4 separate regions of the Homo sapiens genome follow, and regions 1, 2 and 4 are each linked to region 3. The links are contacts of gene promoters, found by promoter capture Hi-C in human tissues and cell types (Jung and others, 2019). All regions are on one chromosome and are shown on one strand. The core of a region is centred on a gene start or on the middle of the fragment in contact, and the rest is flanking DNA. Distances in the headings are between cores, read along the strand shown.

What was found. Contacts are between HindIII fragments. The study calls those that stand out against the background at their distance.
Region 1: a contact is called between a fragment that was not itself captured here and the fragment with the promoter of ZNF732 in region 3, in 2 of the 25 tissues and cell types used here (dorsolateral prefrontal cortex and spleen).
Region 2: a fragment that was not itself captured here is called in contact with the fragment with the promoter of ZNF732 in region 3 in 1 of the 25 tissues and cell types used here (dorsolateral prefrontal cortex).
Region 4: a contact is called between a fragment that was not itself captured here and the fragment with the promoter of ZNF732 in region 3, in 10 of the 25 tissues and cell types used here (adrenal gland, bladder, dorsolateral prefrontal cortex and 7 more).

The regions. Positions count from the first base shown.
Region 1 is chr4:347,878-351,185 of GRCh38, reverse strand. All of the region lies in intron 3 of ZNF141 (zinc finger protein 141), which reads right to left. MIR571 (microRNA 571) reads right to left here and starts at 1,029; the gene lies at 934-1,029. The HindIII fragment of the contact is 5,531 bases long and covers 1-3,308 here.
Region 2 is chr4:264,622-267,762 of GRCh38, reverse strand. No RefSeq gene overlaps it. Among named protein-coding and RNA genes, the nearest start is that of ZNF732, 39 kb to the left of the region's middle. The HindIII fragment of the contact is 8,269 bases long and covers 1-3,141 here.
Region 3 is chr4:303,912-307,126 of GRCh38, reverse strand. It overlaps ZNF732 (zinc finger protein 732), which reads left to right and starts at 1,653. Exons shown (of 4, transcript NM_001137608.3): 1 at 1,653-1,819. The coding sequence starts at 1,817. The HindIII fragment of the contact is 17,523 bases long and covers 1-3,215 here.
Region 4 is chr4:365,524-368,599 of GRCh38, reverse strand. The region is part of intron 3 of ZNF141 (zinc finger protein 141); the gene reads right to left. Among named protein-coding and RNA genes, the nearest start is that of MIR571, 17 kb to the right of the region's middle. The HindIII fragment of the contact is 4,034 bases long and covers 1-3,076 here.

The DNA of each region.
Region 1 (3,308 bases), core at 140-2,639, 44 kb before region 3:
TACTTTTGGGGAGGCCTCAGAAAGCTTCCAGTCACGGCACAAAGCAAAGGGAGAGTGAGTCATCTCACACAGTGGGAACAGGAGCAAGACAAGAGTGAGAGGGGAGGTGCCACATGCTTTTAAAAAATAAGATCTCAGGCCGGGCGCGGTGGCTCACGCCTGTAATCCCAGCACTTTGGGAGGCTGAGGTGGACGGATCATGAGGTCAGGAGATCCAAACCATCCTGGCTAACATGGTGAAACCCCGTCTCTACTAAAAAAAAAAAAAAGTACAAAAAATTAGCCGGGCATGGTGGCAAGCACCTGTAATCCCAGCTACTCTGGAGGTTGAGGCAGGAGAATGGCATGAACCCGTGAGGTGGAGCTTGCGGTGAGCCGAGATCATGCCACTGCACTCCAGCCTGAGCCACAGAGCGAGACTCCATCTCAAAAAATAAATAAATAAAAAATAAGATCTCGGGAGAACTCACTCACTATGGCAAAGACAGTACCAAAGGGGCTGGTACTAAACTATTCATGAAAAGCCAACCCTACGATCCAATCATCTCCCTCAAGGCCCCACCTCCAACAATAGGGATTACATTTGACATGAGATTTGAATGGGGACATAGATCCAAACCGTATAATTTACAAAAGTGAAAAAGTGAAAAAATTCAAACATCCTTCAATGAATGAAAGATTTTAAAAGATGTGGCTTATACACGCAATGAAATATTCTTTAGCTTCAAATGAAAATGTCTTGTCAGATGCTACAATAAGGATAAATCCTGAGGCCATTATTTTAGTGAAATAAGACGCTAACAAAGTGACAATGCATGATTCCATTTTTATACAATATTTTAAGTAGTAAGCACATAGAAAGCAGAAGTAGAAAGGTGCTTGCCTATGGTTAGGGTTGTGAAACCTCAGTGGAGCCAGAGATCGAGGGTTATTTAGAATAAGCAGGCCCTCACTCAGATGGCCAACTCAAGAGCCCATAGACATGGCTACAGACAAGGAAATGGCACACTGAGCTTGGTCTTACTGAGGATTCTGAAGCAGTTCTGTAACCTCTCTCAAATTCAATCTCAGCTACAGTCCAGACGTGGTCCTTCCCATCAAGAGACCTGCAGGGAGATACACACCCAGCCATGGCCCTGGAGGCAGGCCTGTATATCCTGGCCTCAGCTGTGCTCCTGAGCCCTGTGACTCAGTTCTAGCCCTCACAGTCACAGTCCATGGCCAGTTGTACACAATCAGGGACCCAAAGAGAAAAGTGTGGAAACTGTTCCCAGGTTGTCAGTAGAAGCCAAACCCATTCATACACCTGGTATTTGGCCCATCATATGCAGACAAACTTCAAAACCCTAGTCTACTGCCTGCCATATAGATTAATATCCTCAAGGAAATCTAATCTCTCCAGGGCCCAGAAATAATCCATGACTGTCCAAATCTCTGGTAATACAATCATCAAAGGCAGACCCCACAGCAGACCCAGCAGCACCCTTGTGACCCAGCTACAACCCTTCTTCTCTGCAACCCCAGAGGTAATCTCATCAGCCTGGGACTCAACAAAAGGAGATCTTTACCTGCCAAAAATAGTTTATACAAACTGTGAAATTTGTCAAATGCAGACACAGGGCTGCTTCAGAGACCACAGCCGGGGACAAGACTTGCAGGCCTGCCTCCAGGGCCACAGCTTCTATCTTAACATGTGACTGGAAGTTTGTATCAAAACAATTAGACAAGGAAAAGGAGAATAAAGCTCTCCAGAGTGGAAAAGAAATAAAAAAGTTACTGTTTGTGGATAATATCATCATGCATATACATAAAACCCTAGAGTAAAATAAGAAAAATTGATTGAACTAATAAATGCATTCATTAAAGTATCAGGATACATAATCAACATATAGATGCTTGTTGGGATTTTTTTTTTTTTGAGACAGGGCCTCACTCTATTGCCCAGGCTTATCTCAAACTCCTGTACTCACATGATACAACTGCCTTGGGCTCTGAAAGTGCTGGGATCACAGAAATGAGCCACTGCACCTGGCACCACATACAAATATTTCTTGCATTTCCATAGAGTAAAAACAAACTTTCCAAAAATAGAAACCATTTCCATTTGCAATAGTATAAAAATAAGAAAGTTAATCAAAATAAATTTAACCAAATGACATAAAAAACATATAGTATTATACACTAAATACAATAAGATATCAATGACAGAAAGTGAAGTAGAAACAAATAAATGGAAACATATTCCATTAGGATAACTAATATTGTCAAAGAATATTATCCAAAGTGATCTATAGATTCAATGTGATCCCTATCAAAATTTTATTGGCATTTTTCACACTAATAGAAAACACAATTGTAAAATTTAGGTGTAACCTTAAACGACTTTTAATAACCTGAGCAATCAATCTTGAGAAAGAACAAAGCTGGGGGCATCATACTTGTTTTTTTTTTTTTTTTGAGATGGAGTCCAGCTCTGTCACCCAGGCTGGAGTGCAGTGGCACAATCTAGGTTCAGTGATCTAGGCTCACTGAAACCTCTGCCTCTTGGGTTCAAGTGATTCTCCTGCCTCAGCTTCCCGAGTAGCTGGGATTACAAGCGCCCACTACCACCCCTAGCTAGTTTTTGTATATTTTTAGTAGAGACAGGGTTTCACCATATTGGCCAGGCTAGTCTTGAACTCCTGATCTCAAGTGATCCGCCCACCTCGGCCTCCCAAGGTGCTGGGATTACAGGTGTGAGCCACCTTGTCTGGCAGGCATCATGCTTTCTAATTTCAGACTTCAAAACAAAGACTGAAATTAAGACATGAAATCTTAAAACTCATGAAGAAAACATATGGAAAAACCTTGTTGATATTGGTCTCGGCAATAACTTTTTTTGAAATGACATCAACAGCACAGCAACAAAATAAAATATAAACAAGTGAGACTGCATCAAAGTAAACAGCCTCTGCACATCAAAGGAAAAAATAAAAACAAAATTTTTAAAAACCCTACAAAATAGAAAAGCATTTGCAAGCCATATCTGATAAGTTAATATCCAGCTGGGTGTGGTGGCTCAGGCCTGTAATCTCAGCACTTTGGGAGGCCGAGGCAGGCAGATCATGAGATCAGGAGATCGAGACCATCTTGGCTAACACAGTGAAACCTCGTCTCTACTAAAAATACAAAAAATTAGCTGGGCATGGTGGCACGTGCCTGTAATCCCAGCTACTCGGGAGGCTGAGGCAGGAGAATCGCTTGAACCCGAGAGACAGAGGTTGCAGTGAGCAAAGATCGTGCCACTGCACTTCAGCTCGGGCGACAGA
Region 2 (3,141 bases), core at 255-2,754, 39 kb after region 3:
TCAAGGGTGTAGGTAAGAGATGCTAACAATGTACTATCTGATAACATAGCTGAATGACATTTCTAGTCTATTTTTCCAATGGCTTTAAACAGCAAGTAAACTGAATATTGTTCCCATGTTGCATTTTTATTCTTATTTAAATTTTTAAAAAGTTTTTGTGGGTACATAACTATGTATATATTTATGGTATATATGGGTTATTTTGATACAGGCATACAATATATAAATGACAGAGTAAATGAGTTATTCATTATCTTAAGCATTTATCTTTTTTTTTTCTTTTTCTTTTTCTTGGGACAGAGTTTCGTTCTTGTTGCCCAGGCCAGAGTGCAATGGTGCGATCTTGGCTCACTGCAACCTCCACCTCCCAGGTTCAAGCAATTCTCCTAAATCAGTCTCCTGAGTAGCTGGGATCACAGGCATGTGCCACCATGCCTGGCTAATTCCCCCCCCCCCCCCCCAGACGGAGTCTCGCTGTCACCCAGGCTGGAGTGCAGTGGCGTGATCTTGGCTCACTGCAGACTCCGCCCCCCAGGGTTCACACCATTCTCCTGCCTCAGCCTCCCAAGTAGCTGGGACTACAGGCGCCTGCCACCTCGCCTGGCTAATTTTTTGTATTTTTAGTAGAGACGGGGTTTCACCGTGTTAGCCAGGATGGTCTCGATCTCCTGACCTCGTGATCTGCCTGCCTCAGCCTCCCAAAGTGCTGGGATTACAGGTGTGAGCCACTGCGCCTGGCAACCTGGCTAATTTTGTATTTTTAGTAGAGTTGGGGTTTCTCCAGCATTTATCTTTTATATTACCCACAATCTAATTATACACTTCAATTATTTTTAAATGTACAATTTTTTCTACTACAGGTCATTTTATGATTGTAATAAGTATATCAGAGTATAATTATAATTCATACATTCCTGAGTCCTGAATGATTTTCAAAAATGTTTCATATTTATCTTTGGACATGCATCATGTTCTCCTGTAAACATACAGACTTAGTTTTAATTTACATGGAGTTAAATATATAAATGTTGTGCTCTAAAGATAAACCTTGGGTGTAAGAAAATTATGAAGCAAGCAATTGTGTTTGCATGAGAGTTTGTACCTATTTTCCGAAGAAAATAGCAATATTGGAACAAAGAAGTTTCTATTAATACTGTGGATAATTTACTGGAAATCTAGAAACCTAAAACATTTTGAATTAAAATCTATGTTTTCTTATTTTTATGTAATTACTGTAAAATCTAATGGATCATTTTTGAGAATCTCCCTGTAAAAAGTCTCTGTTTTAATGTGGTGCTCATGCTAGAGGTATAATTTTCTTGTTTCTCATTCTTTTTTTTTAACTCCATAAAGTATGTGGGCTGGTCAGAAATTATAAAATTTTTTTAAAAAGTTAGTGCACAGAAAATACTTTTTAGATGTAATTTTACAATGTGTATAGTTATATTTTATTGGAACATTTAATTTTCCTTATATTTCTTTTTTTGTTTTTTGAGACAGTCTCACTCTGTCACCAGGCTGAAGTGCAATGGCATGATCTTGGCTCAGCGCAACCTCCGCCTCTTGGGTTGAAGCGATTCTCCTGCCCCAGCCTCCCAAGTAGGTGGGACTACAGGTGCACACCACCATACCTAGCTAATTTTTGTAGTTTTAGTAGAGACAGGGTTTCACCGTGTTGCCAGGATGGTCTTGATCTCTTGACCTGGTGATCCACCTACCTCGGCCTCCAAAAGTGCTGGGATTACAGGCATCCGCCACTGCACCTGGCCTCTGTTTTTATTTTCTAATTGTCTTTAGTTTTCTGATGTCTTCATGTGTTTATCCCCAGCTATGTATGCTTCACTGCTCTTCTTTGTGTTATGGCTACAGTTTCCTCACTGTTCTCTTCATGCCATGTAATTTCACTTGGACTTTCTAGGCTCTGATGAGAAGTTTGGAATTTTTAATGTATATTGTTTTTAACTGGCGTGTTTGAGATTATAGCTTATCAATGCAACATTCAGATCATGTAATTGAGGTAAGACTAATTCACTGTCCACATGTAAGAGGATTAAGTGAGCACCGTTTTTCTCTTTGTAAAAGAAAAATTGTATGAGAATCTAACACAAAGTGTGTTAAATGTAACATACCTTAATATATATTAAAGCATAAATATAAGTTGGTTGCAGATTGTAAGCACCATATGAAGAAACACATCAGAAGTTTGAAATCTCTTAAAATATATCTTTGAAATAAAATTTTTAAGACTTAATGGTAGATGAAGAATTTTACATATAATTTTCTATGACATAGCAAAACTTATTTTTTATGCAGAATCTTCTATTTTTGACTAAATGTTAAGTGTTGCAAAAATAATAGAATGATCTGTGTAGATTCAAAATCTGCAATGATCTTTTTTTGTTGAGATTCGTATTGCAATCTTGAGTTTGAAATTTGTTTTGGTGGATGCAGTTCATGGGGTACAGTTTTTATTTTTAGTCATCTAACTTTATCCAAGTTCTTGGTCACCTTCTCTAGAAAAAATTAGGCGATTATGGCAGCTATTGAATTCAAACATTCATTAATTCCATTAATGTAATTCAGCATATATAAGGTCCTCAGCTATTGTTTTCTTGAGAGAAACAATTCAGCCCAGAGACAATTAGTGAAGCAAGCAGAGAGTTCATTAAAGGAAAATAAAGAACACACCAAAGGAGGAGTGGATTGGCTCAGCTGGAAACAGCCCTGAGATTTACATGTTGCAGTTTTTATTATTATAGACTTAAAAAAAATTCCCACCTCTGTCTTAAGTGTCTGCCTTTGTCTTTGTGGAGTTTCCTGCTTCCTGGTAAATCTCTTCTTTTATCCTCACTGAGTTTCTTCCCAGGTCTATGAGATGCTTCCTTACTGTCGGCTGATGTACATGTGTGAGTTCCAGTGATCAATGAGTTTTGATGGCAGAATAGCTTATTACCACTACCCTAGGAAAGTCATATAGCAGTCAAATCTGTACTTACTACGCCTGCATATCTCTTAGGAAGTTTCCTTTTGCCCTTTCCCTCTTTTTGTCAGCATATAGCTAGCTACATTCTGACAGTTTAATCACAGTATGAGCAATTATTGGGTGTCTTAAGGGGTGTTTCTGGGTATTCTTTCTTCATG
Region 3 (3,215 bases), core at 404-2,903:
CAAGAAATTTGCCTTTAATCTATTCCCTCCACATCTAAACTCTGGAGGGCAAGGCTGTGAAGAGATCTGAATACATGGTGCTCTCTCTTCCTGTGGACCCATCATTCCTTGTTTACTGTCTGATATTTAAAAGGAAGAGGAACCCCTGAGAGAGGAGGCAGTCAGAAGCTAGTTAGGAAGATAGGGAGGGAGGGTCTCTGGAGAGGAAAAACACCCATGGGACCGCACATGCACCACCCTTGTAGCTAGTGGGAAGAAATGTGGTTAAGAACTTCCTCTTATGCCAGGATGTTGATCAGAAGGGACTGTCCCCACTTAGGCCCAGGTGTAATAAATCAACCTAAATGTCATTAACTTGACCCAGCTCCTTATAATGTTACCTAACATGACATAAGTATTTTGGTTTTAGCTTCACCCTTTCCACCTGCTGTGGGTTTCGCTTGGGCACTCATGGGTAATAACCAAGACGGAGTCACTGTGGTCAATCCCAGGCATGCTCAGATGCAACACTGTTATAGGGGAACTTTACCCCTCCCATTTGGGCAGAGCCCACAGAAGACTTCCTTGTTCTTGCCATATAAACTCAGCCCCATTTCTGGCACCCTGCTTTCATGTCCCCTCTTACTGCTGAGAGCTTTCCCTATGCTTAATAAATCCTATTCTGCTTTACTCACTCTCTGGTGTCTGTATGTCTTATTCTTCCTGGTCATGGGAAGAGAGCCCAGACGTGGTTGAACTGAGGAGACCACCACACTGGTACCAAACAGCAAGGGGGAGACAGTGATCTTCACGTGGACACTCTCAGCTTGCAGCCCCTGCTCTCTCTAGGGGCACTGTCCTACCCATCCTTCATCCTGAGGAGAAAAGTTGGTAGAGAGGCTGGTCCCTTACTTCCAGTAGAAAAGACGTGTTCAGGCCCTCACTTTCTTGAGGTCAGAGCCCTCATGGCTGTACTCGATGTGGCAGCCACCAGACATATGTAGCTACTGAGTACCTGGAATGTGGCTGGTTTGAGGTAAAATGTGCTGCAAACATAAAATACACAGTGAGTTTAGACGAATTAAATCAGAAATATACTTTATTTCTAATTATATATTGATCACATATTGAAACAATATTTTGGATACAATAGGTTAAAATATAAACAATTTCACTTGTTTCTTTTTATTATTTTTGATGTGGCTAATAAAAAATTGAAAATTCACAAATAGCTAACATTTTATTTTTTAAAGGATTGCTTCCCCCTTAAAATCCTACTCAAAAGACCAGAGGACAGAGAGGTTATGAAATCTAAAATATTAAAATAATTGTCATTATATTGTTTCCATTTGTGAACAAGTGTGTGTCTGTGTGTGTGCGCGCGCGTACGTACACAATTTATAAATGGGCGTAACCTTACACACCAGAAGGTTAAAAATGAACCCCCAACAGAGCCAAGCCTAGCACAGAAAGCCCTGACTGAAAATACCTGGAGGCACGAGTCTGTCTCTCTTGCCTCATTAAGTGCACTGTGTGGTGGCAAGTTCTGTCACTCAAATTCTGAGCGTGGGGAGCTTGGTATCTTATCCAATCAGAGCGCTGGATTGAGAACTGCCCAATCAGGCGCGCAGCCGGAGAGGAGGGGGCGGCATCCGGGATCTGGCGCGGCTTTTGCCTTTTGCGCCAGCGTGAGCTCGGTTAGGGTCTCCACGGCCGTGCTTTCACCCCTCAGGGAGGCGTCGGTGATTCGGTCACAGCCTCAGCCTCCGTCGCTCTGTGACCTGCGGGTATTGGATGATTCGTAGCTGAGACTCCGCTACACCCCTGAAGTGGGGAAATGGTGAGTGTGGGGGCAGGGCGTCCCAAGGCTGGGGAGGCCTCATCCGAACCGGCGGGAAATGGCGGCGGCGGGACGGAGTCTGCGAACGGAGTCTCCGCTGCCGCCGCTCAGCCCTCAGTCCTTGGTCCCTTCCGGTGAGGGACCCGGGTTCATGTCGGTCCCCGCAAGGCGGCTTTGGCCCAGCCTGCAGCCCTACTTGTGCAGCTCTGCGCCCGCAGCCCCGCACCTTCCCTGGGCTGTGGGGTGAGGAGGAGCTCATCGGGAAAACGCCTGCGTGGCGTGCGAGGTGCCCGCCTGGGAGGAGCTGTGGTCCGGTCGTCGAGTCCCTACTTTACCCTGTTCGGAATAAGATCGAGGCCCTATCAAAACATAGAGTTCATGTGAGCAAATGGGGACTAATTAATGGGACAGCCCCGGGCATGGCTTGTGGTTTGGGGGCTGCCAGCGGGTCTTGAAGGAAAAGCTTTTGTGAGGTGTGTGAGGAAGCGAAGCAAATCACCCGCCCGCTCCAACTTGCCCACCAGTCCCCTTGCCCTGTGCGCCTCCTCCGCGTGGCTGTTCCTGAGTGGCATCTTTTAGAATACGCTGGTGTGGGCGCGCACAGCGCTTCGCTGAGTTCTGTGAGTAGTTCTGCCACATTATTGAACTTGAGGAGGGTGTGGGCGCCCCTGGTTTGTAGGCAGGCGTTCAGAAATGAAGACGGGTGTCCAGAGGCAGGGACTGCCGTCTGCAGGGGGGGGGCAGCTGCGGGAAGAGCGCTGAGCTTGTGGGGTCTTCGCTGACTCTGGGTGGTGTCGTTAGTGAGTTGCTGGACACCGCGTTGGGGTTGGAGCATTGACTGATGTTGAGCAAACTCCGCACGTTTTCTGTCAGAAGAAAGACATGGCTGAGCCTGGGCTGGAGAAAGATGCCTGGTGTCTGCGGGAGGCGCGGCCGGGTTCTGCACATGTGCTGTCCCGCTGGGCACTGTCCTTTTCCTCCAGGTCTCCTTCCGGGGAGAGAAGGGACTGGGAACTTAGAGGAAAGGAGTTCTGAGAAACATCCCTTCCCTGCACCCTGCTGCCAGCCCCCACTTAATGCTAACCCACTCCCGAGGACGCTCACTGGCCATTCGCATTGCCACACTCCTCCCAGGACAGGGTTCTACCCTCAGGAATTGTGCCCGTGACAGCTTTGCTCCTAGGGTATTCTGCCAATAACACACACAGTGCCAGGAAGACTCCTGGCTCATTTCAACCCCAGACACTGGATCTATAGCAGGAACCTGTTTCCTTCCCCCACCCAGGCTTCTGGACCACCTGATCCTAATCTCCTCTGCCTTTATGGACACATGAATCAGTCAGATGGTAACCCTGCCTAGACCTGCACTTGTAGCACAAACTAGTCTTTTATTTAG
Region 4 (3,076 bases), core at 485-2,984, 61 kb before region 3:
ACCAAATCAATGGATAAATATAATTTGAAATATTAAAATAATGAAACATTGGCCGATTGGCCAGGCATGGTGGCTCATGCCTGTAATCCCAGCAGTTTGGGAGGCCGAGACAGGTGGATCGCTTGAGGTCAGGTGTTCGAGATCAGCTTGACCAATGTGGTGAAACCCTGTCTCTACTAAAAATACAAAAATTAGATGGGTGTGGTGGTGCACGTCTGTAATCCCAGCTACTTGGGTGGTTGAGGCACAAGAATTGCTTGAACCTGGGACGTGGAGGTTGCAGTGAGCTGAGATGGTGCCACTGCACTTACATTCTGACTGGGTGACAGAGCAAGACTCTGTCTCAAAAAAAAAATCCTTTAAAAAAATGAAACATTACTGTTTATAAAAAGCAAAAAGTATCCTAATATGTATAATAAAGATAAATGTTGATGGCACTGTGTAACACAAAATAAGTCAGCCATGAAGAGACAAAAATTGCATGAGTCAACTTACATGAGATATATAAAGCAGTCTGACTCTAAAATAGAAAACAGAATTGTTTTTGTAAAGGGCCAGAAAACAGAAAAAGTAGGTAGTTGTTTAATGTGTATGAGTGTTAGCCTTGCAAGATAAACATATTCCAGACAGAGTGCATAAGAATATCGATATAATATGACTAAGGTAAATACTTAAAAGTATTTATGGCACGTGTATACCTATGTAACAAAATCTGGATGTTCTGCACGTGTACCCCAGAACTTAAATTATGACAACAAACTTTGGAAAAAAACAGTATTTAAGATTGTAAAGTTTTGGCTGGGCGCGGTGTAATCTCAGCATGTTGGGAGGCCGTGGCGGACAGATCATGAGGTCAGGAGATCAAGACTAGCCTGGCCAATATGGTGAAACCCCGTCTCTACAAAAAATACAAAAATTAGTTGGGCATGGTGGTGCGCACCTGTAATCCCAGCTACTCAGGAGGCTGAGGCAGAAGAATCGCTTGAACCTGGGAGGCAGAGGTTGCAGTGAACTGATATCGCACCACTGCACTCCAGCCTGGGTGACAGAGTGAGACTCCACATCAAAAAAAAAAAAAAAGATTGTAAAGTTTATGTGTTTTTGACAATTAAAAATAGTATCTAAAATCTGAGATACAGACATATGACAGTTTTTGAACTTATCTTCAAGTCGCAAAAGTGTTTCTCCCACACACAAATATAGATTTACAAATAAATAGAAAGTAAAATTAGGAGGATTTCAATGACTATTCAAAACCACCATTGAACACACATAAACAGAACAAGTAAACAACTCATAAACAATACAAAACCAATACACATACAGATAGACTCATATTGGAAATAGACATATCAGTGATCCATATTTCACTTGTGCTCCAGTCTTACAGTGTACACAGCTGAATGCTGTCATACACAATTATAATATAAAATAAAAACATACTTGTCCTGTTCCAGATCTCAAAAAAAGAAGATTTCTGCTCTTTCCTATCCAGTATGATATCAGCTATTAATCTGTCATATAGGGTCTTTACTGTATTGAGGTACATATGATCTATACCTAATTCGTTGAGTTTCTTAAATCACAAAGCCATGTTCAATTTTGCCAGTGTTGCTTCTACATCCACCAGTTGGCCAGGTTCAGTGGCTCACGCCTGTAATCCTAGCATTTTGGGAGGCTGAGGCAGGAGGATTACCTGAGGTCCAGAGCTCAAGACCAGCCTGGTCAACATGGCGAAACACTGTCTCTCCTAAAAATACAAAAATTAACCAGGTGCAGTCCAGCTACTCCCAGCTACTCAGGAGGCTGAGGCAGGAGAATTGCTTGAACCTAGGAGGCAGAGGTTGTGGTGAGCCAAGATCGCACCAGTGCGCTCCAGTCTGAGCGACAAAGCAGGACTCCATCCCAAATTAAATAAATAAAATAAAATATGTCTAGCAGCAAACCGAATTGAAAAGGTGAACACTCTCTACACTGATAATTATAAAACATTGATAATGCTGGGTGTGGTGGCTCACGCCTGTAATCCTAGCACTTTGGTAGGCCAAGGTGGGCAGATCACGAGGTCAGTAGTTCGAGAGCAGCCTGACCAACATGGTGAAACCCCGTCACTACTAAAAATACAAAAATTAGTGGGGCGGCACACGCCTGTCATCCCAGCTACTCAGGAGGTTGAGACAGGAGAATCATTTGAACCCAGGAGGCAGAGGTTGTGGTGCACTGATATTGTGCCATTGCACTCCAGCCTGGGCAACAGGGTGAGACTTTGTCTCAAAAAGCAAACAACAACAAAATTGATAAAAAACTGAAAAAGACATAAAAATTGAAAGATATTTTTCCTCATGAATTGAAAAAACATTACGAAAGTGGCCATACTACCCAAGGTGATCTACAGATTCAATGCCATCTCTATCAAAATACCAAAGACTTTTTTCACAGCAATGGAATAAACAAGCTTAAAATTAACCAGGACCAACCAAAGACCCCCAAATAGCAAAGGTAATCCTGGGCAAAAAGAATCAAGCTGGAGGCATTACACTACCTGACTCCGAAATATGCTATAAAGCTATAATAAGCAAAACAACATGATACTGGCATAAAAACAGACAGATCAAACTATCCAGTGAGCCCAGTAATAAATTCATGAAACTAGAGGCAAGTGATTTTCAACAAAGATGTCAAGAACACACATTTGGAAAAAGACAGTCTTTTCAATAATTGGTGCTAGGAAAATTGATTACCTACATGATAATCAAAAAATGAAACTAGGCCCCTAGCTCTTACAGTATAAAAAACTCAATCGCAAATAAAGATTTAAATGTGAAACCCAAACCTATAAAGCTATTTGGATAAACATAGAGGAATGCTTTACCACATATTACAGAGCAAAGAATTTTTAAGTAAGACCTCAAAAGCACAGGCAAAAGAAGTAACATTATGCAAATGGGATTACAACAAACTAAAAATGTTTTGCACAGCAAAGAAAACGTTAACAAAGTGAAGAGATAATCTACAGAATGAAAGAAAATATTTGTGAAATATACACAACAAAAGATAAACTTATAGAATATTTAAC